Linked DNA regions of Homo sapiens: region 2 is linked to region 1. Evidence: promoter capture Hi-C in human tissues and cell types (Jung and others, 2019). All regions are on one chromosome and are shown on one strand. Each heading gives the region's core, a stretch centred on a gene start or on the middle of the fragment in contact. The rest is flanking DNA. Distances are from core to core; before and after follow the strand shown.

The links. The method cuts DNA at HindIII sites, captures the fragments that hold promoters and counts their contacts. A contact is called where the count stands out against the background at its distance.
Region 2: a contact is called between the fragment with the promoter of SETX here and the fragment with the promoter of CACFD1 in region 1, in 1 of the 25 tissues and cell types used here (small bowel).

What each region holds. Positions count from the first base shown.
Region 1 is chr9:133,457,045-133,462,819 of GRCh38, reverse strand. It overlaps CACFD1 (calcium channel flower domain containing 1), which reads right to left and starts at 2,842. Exons shown (of 5, transcript NM_017586.5): 1 at 2,633-2,842. The coding sequence starts at 2,753. ADAMTS13 (ADAM metallopeptidase with thrombospondin type 1 motif 13) reads right to left here. Exons shown (of 29, transcript NM_139027.6): 28 at 4,726-4,910; 29 at 3,434-3,846. The coding sequence ends at 3,640. RefSeq lists enhancers at 1-384, 5,079-5,373, 4,897-5,764 and silencers at 2,327-2,626, 2,917-3,016, 3,027-3,246. The HindIII fragment of the contact is 20,945 bases long and covers 220-5,775 here.
Region 2 is chr9:132,352,905-132,358,679 of GRCh38, reverse strand. It overlaps SETX (senataxin), which reads left to right and starts at 3,694. Exons shown (of 26, transcript NM_015046.7): 1 at 3,694-3,763; 2 at 4,925-5,031. RefSeq lists silencers at 3,395-3,784, 3,835-4,044 and enhancers at 3,429-3,928, 2,910-4,109, 3,929-4,430. The HindIII fragment of the contact is 18,222 bases long and covers 1-5,775 here.

The DNA of each region.
Region 1 (5,775 bases), core at 1,593-4,092:
GCCAGGAAGGGGAGGGGGCATCGTTTTCCACCCCAGAACGTGGCTTCTCTGATGCTCAGATGTGCAGCCTTGACGCCCCGCCTCCCAGCTGCACCTCACCAGCAGGGTCTCTTGCACCCAACTCCCTCCTCCACCCACAGCCTGCAGCCTGGCTTCACCAGGAACTCCAGGAGCCTTCAAGGCAGGTCCAAGGAGGTGGCTGCTGGGCAGGGAGCAAGCCCAGGCCATCACTGAGGGGGGCCTTGGAGGCAGCAATTAGCACCCAGCTCATTAAACTTGCAGCAGCTCCTCTGCACCTGATCCCTCCACCTGGGTCTGGAATTCTGCTGTTTTCCATTTTCCCAGGTAACCTTATGCAGACAGCAGGCAAAGAAGCCAGATAAAGTGAGCCGAACTGCAATGGGACTGCTTCATGGGCCCCCAGGGTCTCCTTCTAAAACAAAGGACTCAAGCGTTGCACTGCTCCTCAGCACAGCCTTAGACATCTGCCTTCAGACAGCAAGGTGTTCCAGAACCACAGGTACACAGGGGCCTGCCTGTCCTAGCAGAGTGCCCAAAGGGTGACACGGCTCCCTGCCTCTCTGCTGTGCCTGGCCTCACCTGACAGCTCGGCTGTGCTTCCTGCTGCAGTCAGCATTTGGCCTCCAGCTCCAACCCTACCCCAGCTGTCCAACCCACAGCCAGCCTTGGGGGAGGACCAGGTGTCAAGCCAGACCAGCAGGCTCCAGCCAGGAATCCTTTAGCAATAAAGGGCTGGAGGATGTCCACTTGGGGGCCTCAATGCTGATATCTTCCACGTGAGGGGGCTGTCACCATGCAATCCTGTCCCCTCCCAAGGTATCACCTCCAGATGCTCTTAGGACCCAGGGTAGACCCTCTCCAGGTACTCTCTCTGATCCCCTCACCCTGGAGGAGGAAAACCTTACCCAAGGACCAGCCCGGCACACAACCCTTGTCTGAACTCCTGCCGCATCTCTAAAACACCCTGCATTTTTGCATTCTACCCTGTAATACAGCATTTTGATGTTCACATAACCATGCCCCCAAAAATCTGCAGATGCAACTGACAACTCAGGGCAATGCCACAAGTTTCTCCTGAAGCTTCATCTGTAGACCCAACAGAGCCCCAGGAACTCCCAGGAAAGGCAGAGGTACCTCACTTTGAGAGGCACAGAACTGAGTAAGACTCCACAGCAAATCTGGGAGTCGGCAGGGCCACTGACCAAGAAGGAAGGAGGTGTGGCCTACAGGCCATAGTCAGGACCTTTCCTTTCTCACCACTGACCATGTCACCCCACTGCACTGCCCACCCTAATCTGCAGGGAAAACAGCTAACCAGACATGACAGGACTGGATCCAATGCCTAACTTCAAACCCACCAGTCTCTCCTACAAAGTCAAAAGCGTACTTGCCCTGAAGAGCAGTGACACAAACTCGGGGCCTTTTTGTGATTTGGGGGTAGGGCCTGCCCTACCGTATCCGTTGCCTCTGGATAAGGGCATGCCTAGCGAGGGCAGCACACTCCTAGCCCAGCACCCTCCTGCCTCAACCTCCCTCCACCCTCTACCCACCTGGAAAGGCTGTGGAACCCAAGGTGACCCTGAAAAGGTGGTCCTTCTGGCAGGATTGCTGATGGGGCCTGCCCTGCCCAGGCCCAGAGCTAGCCCTCTCTGCCAGGCAGGCACTGTTTAAAACCTGCAGACATCCTCGACAGACATTCTCTAAGACCTTGCCCACTCCAGTAATCCACAAGATTGAGGGCAGACAGGAAAGGAAAGGGTATCACTCAGACAGACTTGTCTTTCCCTGGAAGGCCAGCTGTACGGCTTCCATTCACTCCTGGAGCTGACCTGCCTCCCTCTTTGTCCTTTTCTGGCTGTGCTTAAGAGCCTAGCTTCCCTGGCAGCCTAAGGTCAGGGTCTGTGACTGGGATGCGTGCGGAGAAGGGGAGGAAGGCCGGTGACAGGCGGCTAAGGCAGCAGCAACGGGGGAGATATGAGAGCGGACAGAGGACCCAGGGAGAGGCCGGGCCCTCAGCTCACTGCCCCGCGGCCCCAGGGGCCACCTGTGCCCTGACACCACCTGACCCTCAGCAAACTTCCGCCCAGTGGCTTCCTGCCAGAAATCTAGCCAGCCGTGCACCCGCCTCCCTTACAAACAATCCTTGCCCAAAGGTTAGCAATGTGGCTGCCGTCACCTACGCCCAAGTCAACAGTTGACGCTTTAGTACGGGCCAGGTGGGCATGCGCCCCGTGAGCATCACCGAGAAAGTCTCACAAAAGCCCCTGGGGAGCGGGGGGAGGGCTCAGTCACGTGCCCCAGGCCGGTGCCCCACCCCCGCCCCCGCCGCCCCCCCGCCCTGGGGTTTCTGGTCCCTCCGGGAATGTTCCCAGAAGCGCCAGCCCAGCCCAGCCCGGGGTACCAAGGCGCCCAGGCCCGAGCGGGTAACCATGGCAACCCCAGGACGCCGGCTCCCGGCGGCCCCGCCATTCCTCCGCCCCGGGAGGCGCCCGGCAGACCCCCGACCCCCAGCGGGTCCTTTCCCCTGGGGCCGCCGGGGCGGGGCGGGGCAGGGCAGGGCGAGGAGCGCATGCGCGGCGGGGCCGGCCCCTCTCCCCGACTGGATACTCACAGACTGCCCCCAGCACCCCAGACAGGCGACACAGCCAGCGGTACCACCACGTCATGCCCTCTTCCTGCGCGGGCGGCGCAGAGCTGGCGGACGCCCCGGGCGCCCCACCTGAGCTGCTCATGGTGCCACCGTCAGGCGCAGCTCACAGCCCTCACAAAGGGCTCGGTAGCCGGCCGCGTCCGAGCCGGCGCGCTGCCTTGTGGGAGAGGGAGCATATTAGCATAGGGGGCGGGGCTTTCAGGCTGCGGCGAGGCGCGCCCGAAGGGAGGCGGGTGCTCATTAACATAGTGAGCGGGACCCTCATGCCGCGACTAGGGGCGTTTGAGGGGAGGTAGGTGCTCATTATTGTAGGGGGCGGGACCCGCAGGCTGCGGCGAGGAGCTGGGGGTGGGGAGCTCGTTAGCATACGGGGCGGGGCTCGCAGGCATCGGAGAGGTGTGCCCGAGGGGGGCGGGCGTCATTAGCGTAGGGGGCGGGGGCTCGCAGTTTGCGGCGACTTGCTCCCAAAGGAGGCGGGCGCTTATTAGCATAGGGGGCGGGGCCTGGAGGCGCGCAGACACCTTAGCGGTCAGAGCCTCACACCAGGACACACGGGTGGGGCTTCGCAGGGAGCTGGCTAATGCGCCATCCTCGGAGTGGAATCCTGATTGGATTTTCTTCCTGGATAGGAAGAAGATAACTAGGGACGTCCAGCGGCTTGCTCAGATCAAGATAGAGCCAACCGCGGCCAGCGAATCCCTGCCTTGCCATGGGATGGGTTTTCAAGCCAGGTCTGGACAGCTTATAAGAAAAAAACGCCGGTCAGCCTGCATGTTTTATTTATTGGTACCCGAGGAAATGGGGGCTGCTTTTCCAGAGTCCCCACCTCCAACCCCCTAGCCTTTTGGACATTGGAGAAGACTCTAAAGTAGATACCTAAGATTGGAAAAAGTTCGAATTGGAAAGCACTGAGACCAGGGGTCAACCCTCCAGGGCTGGCCAGACACGGAACAAATGTTCAATGACCCTCAGGTTCCTTCCTTTCCCTTCCAGGACTGAGGGTCCTGCATCTCCGGTACCCATGATTGGAGGGTCCAGTACTGGCCCCGCAGGCTGGCCTGAGCCTTCAGGAAGCCCTCGCTGAACTCCATCTCAGCCTGGCTGCTCTCTGACTCCCAGTAGAGCACCTGCTGCCCATGGAACGCTGTGGTCCTCAAGCTGTGGGTGTCCCGGATCTGAGAGAAAAGGGGCAGCCCAGAAGGACCGGCCACAAGTAATAATTAGCACTCACGGAAGCCTTCGTGTGCAAGGGCTCACAGATTCCGGATCACATTTAATGCTTACAAAGCCCTACTAGGAATACGCCATTACTCTACCCAGAAAACCGAGGTCCAGGGACGTTACATCACTTCCCCAAGGACACACAGTCAGGGTGCCAGAGCGGGGCCAGGCTGCCTCCTCTGGGGAAGCTGATACCCTGCAGAACACAGTTCTCCCAGGACACTTGAAACCTCGGGGAGGGTGCAGGGTGCTATTCTGTCCAAGTTATATCAGACTGTAAAATTATGCTTCAGTCTTGGGTTAGCTGTCAGTCTACATCAGAAAGGTCTTTACCATTCTTTACCATTTCGCTTTTTTTTTTTTTTTTTTTTTGAGACAGAGTCTCACTCTGTTGCCCAGGCTGGAGTGCAGTGGTGCGATCTGGGCTTAGTGCAACCTCCACCTCCCGGGTTCAAGTGATTCTTGTGCCTCAGCCTCCCAAGTAGCTGGGATTACAGGCACACGCCACCATGCCTGGCTACTTTTTCTATTTTTAGTAGAGACAAGGTTTCATCATGTTGGCCAGGCTGGTCTCGAACTCCTGACCTTGAGTGATCTGCCCTCCTGGGCCTCCCAAAGTGCTGGGATTACAGTTGTGAGCCACTATTTCACTCTTGTAGGTAGCTCAAAAAACATTTCTTGGTGAATATGTGGAGGAAGCTATCTTCTCCCATTCTTTCACTAATGATTTTGAGGGTTTTAGTCTGAAATAAACTGAAGGGGGTCCCCTAGCCCTGCACGCCCTAGGGAAAGCTGTCCAGAATCACAGCACAAGTCCCCATGCTGGGCCTCACCAAGATGTAGCTGGCATTGGCTCCCTCGGTCCCAGCGCCCATGTTGGTGGCCAGGGCATGGATGGCAATCCGTGCGTGCGGAGCCACATTAATGAAGAGCCGGCAGCCCCCTGCATTACTCGTGGCTGGACTCAGCGAGGGGCTCACGATTTCACCCCAGGGCCCAAAGAGCTGCATGTCACATTCTGCAGGTGGGACATAGGGACATAGGAACCCAGACAGACCGGTGGTGCCAGAGGCCAGGACAACTCACAGCCAGGGAGCCGTGCAGGGCAGCATGGCACTGTGGTCAATATTGGGGTTCCCAGGCAAATCCTGCTGAACCCCACCTCTACCACTTCCTGGCCCAGTGACTTTAGGCAAAGGCTAAATGTTCTGGGCTCTGGTTCCCTCCTCTGTAACTGAAGGAAACAATGGCATGCACTGAGCAGAGTGGTCTTTAGGACTCAATGATGTCACACGTGCAAGAGTGTTTAACACTGAAACTGGCAACAAAGATAGGCTCCACCCATGGCGGCCACTGCTGTTCCTCAGAGCTCACTGGAGCCCCCACCTGCCTGTACCTCCTGCACCTCTTTCAAGGCAGATGCCTGTGTGGGCGGGGCTGGGCCGGGAAGCGAGAAGCAATGTGAACGGTGACAGTGGGCTTGTGGCCTTTTGGCAGGGCCCAGCAGCGCCTGTGCACTGGGACACATACACGGCTCTCTGCCCGGGCAGGTCTGGGGCAAGGAGGCGGCGCACTAGGTCTCTGCAGAGGCTAAGCCCCTGTTGCCACTAAGCCCCAGACACCTGGGGGAGCCGAGGAACCTCTGGAACCAGCTAGGGAAGCCAACTTCGGCCAGCTCGGGCTGTTGGGAGAGGGCAAGCCCCCCAGGACAACCGAGAGGGCTATCAGAGGATATCGAGGGGGCCACGGGCAAGGCTGGAGTCCCTGAGGTGGCATCCTCTGCCTGAGGTGTGCTTGTGGGTGCACATGCATGTACAAGCATGTCTGCTTACACCAGTGCACTGAAACAGGGCTGAGGGACAGTGGCTTCCACAAAACCCTAA
Region 2 (5,775 bases), core at 2,445-4,944, 1.1 Mb after region 1:
CATGCCAATCAACCTAACTGGCACATCTTTGGAATCGGGAAGGAAATTGGAGTACCTGGAGGAAACCCACACAGACATGGGGAGAAGGGGCAAACTCCACACACAAAGTGGCCTCGGGGCCAGGCACGGTGGCTCACACCTGTAATCCCAGCACTTTGGGAGGCTGAGGCAGGCGGATCACGAGGTCAGGAGTTCAAGACCAGCCTGGGCAACATGCTGAAACTCCGTGTCTACTAAAAATACAAAAATTAGCTGGGCGTGGTGGTGCGTGCCTATAATCCCAGCTACTCAGGAGGCTGAGGCAGGAGAATTGCTTGAACCGAAACCTGGGAGGCGGAGCTTGCAGTGAGCCAAGATCGCATCACTGCACTCCAGAGCCTGGGCTACAGAGGGAGATTCCGTCTCAAAAAAAAGCCTTGAGCAGGAATGGATTTTTTTTTTCTCATCAATGTTATAACAAAACCACATTGAACAAAATGATCTTATTAGAGAACCTGCTATACTTAATATTGTTAAGGTGTCAATTGATTCCCCAGATGTATCTAAAAATACAATTCAATCCCTATAAAAATTCCAACTGCTTGTACTTATTTATTTGCAGAAACGGGACAAGCCAATTCTAAATATTCACATGGAATAGCAAGGGACCTTAAGTAGCTAAAACAATTTTGAAAAAGAACGATACTGGAGGCCTCATACTTCCCAGTCTTTTTATTTATTTATTTATTTATTTATTTATTTATTTATTTATTTATTTATTTATTTTTGGAGATGAGGTCTCACTCTGTCGCCTCGCCTCTCGGGTTCAAGCCATTCTCCTGTCTCAGCCTCCCAAGTAGCTGGAACTACGGGCATGCACCACTAAGCCTGGCTAATTTTTGTATTTTTAGTAGAGACCGGGTTTCACCATGTTGGCTAGGCTGGTCTTGAACTCCTGACCTCAGGTGATCTGCCCACCTCAGCTTCCCAAAGTGCTGGGATTACAGGCCTGAGCCATTGCGCCTGGCCATGTTTATGGTTTTATCAGCTTTAGAAGTTTGTAATTTGTACTTATTTATTCATTCCAAATAAGTATTAATTTTCATTTCTAATTTTATATTTACAAAGTCTATTGCAGTGCTTCTGTTTAACATTCTATAGGTTGTGTAAGTTTTGGGCTCAACAATTCCTGAATGCACCTTGAATCAATGAGTCTCAGGACATAACATTGAGTGTAAAAAGCAATTTGCAGAAAAATACATCCTCCATAATTCCATATACAGAGTTAAAAAGCATGTAAAATTTATATGTTGTTCACAGACAAAAAATGTGGGAAGATGATAAGGCCTACAGAGGGCTTCAGGGACAGGAGGAAATTATGACTTTTGTGGGCTCTGGGCACAAGTTACCTTCATGGCACTTTTCTCCATTAAAAAAAATGATAAAAATTATATTTTATGGCCGGGTGCGGTGGCTCAAGCCTGTAATCCCAGCACTTTGGGAGGCAGAGGCGGGCGGATCACGAGGTCAGGAGATCGAGACCATCCTGGCTAACACGGTGAAACCCTGTCTCTACTAAAAATACAAAAAATTAGCCAGGCGTGGTGGCACGTGGCTGTAGTCCCAGCTACTCGGGAGGCTGAGACAGGAGAATGGCGTGAACCCGGGAGGCGGAGCTTGCAGTGAGCCGAGATGGCGCCCCTGCACTCCAGCCTGGGCGACAGAGCGAGACTCGTCTCAAAAAAAAAAAAAAATTATATTTTATGACTGTGGTGGTATAAAGGCTGTGTTGGTATATTAGTGTTATATGATAAAACAAAATATGTTCAAAATATTTGACAGGATGAAGAAGTAGAAAAGAGGAAAATAACGGTCAACGCGTGCTGCTCCTTAGACGGTTAAATTTGCATAACGGCCACCACGCCCTTCCAACAAGCCACGCCCCCTTGCTAGAATCTTCCTTCGCCTTGGGCCTTTCCCGCAGTGTTCCCCTGGGCTTGCTCCTCATCCTCGGGCCAGGGTTCTCCTCGGTAAGGCTGTATCTGACCCACTTTTCCCAAGCTGGCCCATCTCAGCCTCTTTTTTTATCGCCTGAGTCACCACTACTAATTGTTTAATTTCCCTGTCTCCTCTATTAACTGTAAGACGGTGACGCTGCATCATCGTGGTCAGTAGTAGGCGTTACTAAAAGGGGGTAGGGGCCGGGTGCGGTGGATCACGCTTGTAATCCCAGCACTTTGGGAGGTCGAGGCGGGGCGGATCACTTGAGGTTGGAGTTTGAGACCATCCTGGCCAACATGGTGAAACCCCATCTCTACTAAAAACATGAACATTAGCCGGGCGTGTGGCACACGCCTGTACTCCCAGCTACTCGGGAGGCTGATGCAGGAGAATCATTTGAACCCAGGAGGCGGAGGTTGCAGTGAGCCGAGACTGCGCCACTGCACTTCAGCTTGGGTGACAGAGCGCGACTCCATCTCAAAAACAAAAAAGGGGGGGGATAGGCTTTCCAGTGGATTTTACTCATTTTTATTTATTTATAGACTTTTCTGAGACAGGGTCTTGCTTTGTTCCCCAGCCTGGAGTGTAGTGGCACAGTCACGGCTCACTGCAGTCTCGATCTCCCGGTCTCAATGGATATCCACCCCCTGCCTCAGCCTCCCAACAAGCTGGGCCCACAGGTGCTAATTTTTTTTTTTTTTTTTTTTTTTCCGGAGAGAGAGTCTCGCTCCTTTGCCCAGGCTGGAGTGCAGTGGTGCGATCTCGGCTCACTGCAACCTCTGCCTCCCGGGTTCAAGCCATTCTCATGCCTCAGCCTCCTGAGTAGCTGGGATTACAGGCACCCGCCACCACGCCCAGGTAATCTTTTTATTTTTAGTAGAGACGGAGTTTCACCATGTTGGTCAGGCTGGTCTCGAACTCCTGACCTCAGGTGATCCACCCGCCTCGGCCTCCCAAAGTGCTGGGATTACAGGCGTGAGCCACCGCGCCCGGCCTCGGTGGCTGAGTTTTAATTTTTTTTTGTACATACGGGTGTCTCGCTATGTTGCACAGGCTGGTCTCTGAACTCCGGGCTCAAGCGAGCCTCCCGCCTGGGCCTCCCAAAGTGGTGGGATTAGAAGCGGGAGCCACCGCACCAGCGAGGGATTTACTCTGCTGTGTTGCGCATCGCGCGCATTGTTCGCAAGACCTAAGGTCTCCCTTTCTTGTAATATAAAGGATATACACATATTCCTCCGAAATTACACGTTTATGTAATTTACATTTCAGGTCTTTAAAGGAAATCTAAAGAGAAAAATTACTTCGTCACCGTAGTACATCCGCTGAGACACCTGAGGCGTGGAAAAAAGAAGAAAAAAGAGGGAACGGAAATGGCCAGCGGGTAAGGGCTGACCCCACCCGCAGCAGAGCTCATCCCGGAGCCGCCCCACCCGCAGGAAGCCCCGGGCGGGGCCGAGGTCAAGGTTCCGCGGCAAACTCTCCCCGTCCACCCTGACGGGGACTCGGGATTGGTCGGGCCCCAGCTGCCCGGACGTGACGCCAGCGCCCGGCGTGGGCGGTGCACCGCGGCCGCTCTTCCCATGCCCCGCCCCCTGGGGGGCACCAAAACCAGAAAGCAGCGGCCGGGGCGGGGCCTGCGGCCGGCCGACTCAGCGCGGGGGCGGGGCCTACCTCGCGGCAACAGCTGGTTGGTAGCTGCGGCTGCGGGCCCGCACTTCCGCTGGTGGCCTAGAGCGGGGCCCGGTATGGAGGTGGGCTAGAGGCCGACGCCAGCCAGAGAGCGGTGAGGGTAGCGGCGGGCTGGAGGCCGTAGGTCGGGCGGGCGTGAGCGCAGGCGCGGCTTGTGCTTGCAGGGCCGCTTCGGGGAACCATCGCGGCGCCTAGGTCCCGGTGGGCGGATGGGGGAAGAGTCGGCGCGGGCTCGGCCGCTTCCCTCGGTGCGGGGGCGGGAGCACCCCTCGACGGCTGGCGGCCGCCTGTTGCCTTCCTGCGCGCTGGACCCGGCCGCTGCGACCCCCTGTCCTTCCGTTGTCTACACTGCGGTCTCGTGTGAGCTGTTTTTGGTGTGGATACTGCGTAGTTTCCTTGGGGCTGAGCGGGAGGTCTCGGGGTGGAAAGTGTCGGTTCCCTCCACACGCTCGTCTGCCTCTCGCCTGGAGTCCCTCCCTTTGTTTTTTTTTCTTTTTTCTTTTTTTTTTTTTTTTGAGACGGGGTCTCGCTCTGTCACCCAGGCTGAAGTGCAGTGGAACAGTCACGGCTCGCAGCAACCTCGTCTTCCTGGGCTCCAGCGATCCTTCCGCCTCATCCCCCCGAGTAACTGGGACCATAGGCGCGCGTCACCACGCCCGGCTAATTAAAAACAAAATGTGTTGCAGAGACAGGGCCTGGCTGTGTTTCCCAGGCTGAGCTCAGCTGCTCCAGGGATCCTCCGAGCCGCCGCGCCCGGCCGGTCCCTTCGTTTGGAGGAGAGTCTGTTTCTCCCACTTGGAGGGGCTGGAGCTTTTGCTGCTGGCCACAGGACTTTGTCCGTCCTCCCCAACTTCTGGGGATCTAAGGATGTGCCCAGCAATTTGCACGACCCAAGTGAAACGGGGGTGACTGCCTTGAGGGAAAAGAGCTCCACAAGGAGAAGGCCGAGTGTGGTATTTGATAAGTGACACAGCTGAGGATCCTAGGATTGATGTTACCTGCGCGGGCTAATAACTTGGGGGATTTTTGGCTCGGTGCCTAGCTGTCCCCGTGAGTGGGGACAGCCCCTTGTGGAACTGGGAGTCAGAATTGCAGTTCTGCTGTTTCCTGGAAGTCCACAGCCAAGTTGTCTAACCTATCTGGGCTTCCTCATCAGCCAGCAGTATCTGTCTGTAATAGGATCGATACCAGGCTCAGATGGGATATAGAGTATAAATGCCACTTACCAATTTCGTTTTTTGTTTTTTAATTTCAGAAATGTTCTTTTGGGGCCAGAGTCTGGGCATATATGAATGCAAATCCGTGTTTGTTCACAACTAAGCCCAGCTGAGACGATCACTTTTCTGTAGGCCATTTGTCCAGGTAATAATTTTTTTTTTTAGCAGGAGTTCAGAGCACCAAGGTAAGTGCAATGATGGAAACATGTGCAGAGTCCTAAAGGGACAGAGAAGAAGGTCATCAGAGATAGACTGGAAGAGAGGACGGGTCGGACAGGCCCCCCCCCCAGACGTGATGACACTCAGGAAGAGCTTGCACACTGGTTGTTCTCAAATCCAGCTTTCTCTTCGAATCTTAGTGGAGTTCTTTAAAAGGGAAACAATTTTATCCATAGGATCTTTTCTACTTTTTTTTTTAAGTTCCTGAGGTAAGTCTGATGTGTATTCACAGTTAAGTACCGGGCAGAGGTAGGAGGGTGGGTTTCCAAGGCCAGTGGAAGAGCTTCCATAAAGGCAGGGAATACCAGTCACCATGAATGGTTTTAGGAAGAGCAAGTCAAGGGAGGTAAGTGTGGAGGAAAGAGATGATGTGGAAGCTGGATCATCGCGGGCCTTGTGTGTGTTGAGCTCAGCAATTTGAATTTTATCCCAACATTGGAGGAGGAGTCATTTGTGCTTTCGAAGTCCAGTTTGGGGCTTTGGCCTCTGGCAGCATTTTGGAGGAGGAATTGATGGCGATCAAAGAAGAAATAGATCATTTAGGCTTCTTCAGTAATCCAGGCAAATGATGAAAATGTACTGAACTAAGGCAGTGGCGGTTGCACTGAGAAGAAAGTAGAGATGTAATTAAGGGGTAGGCTCTGGAGCTCAGAGATTGCGGCTGAGGGAG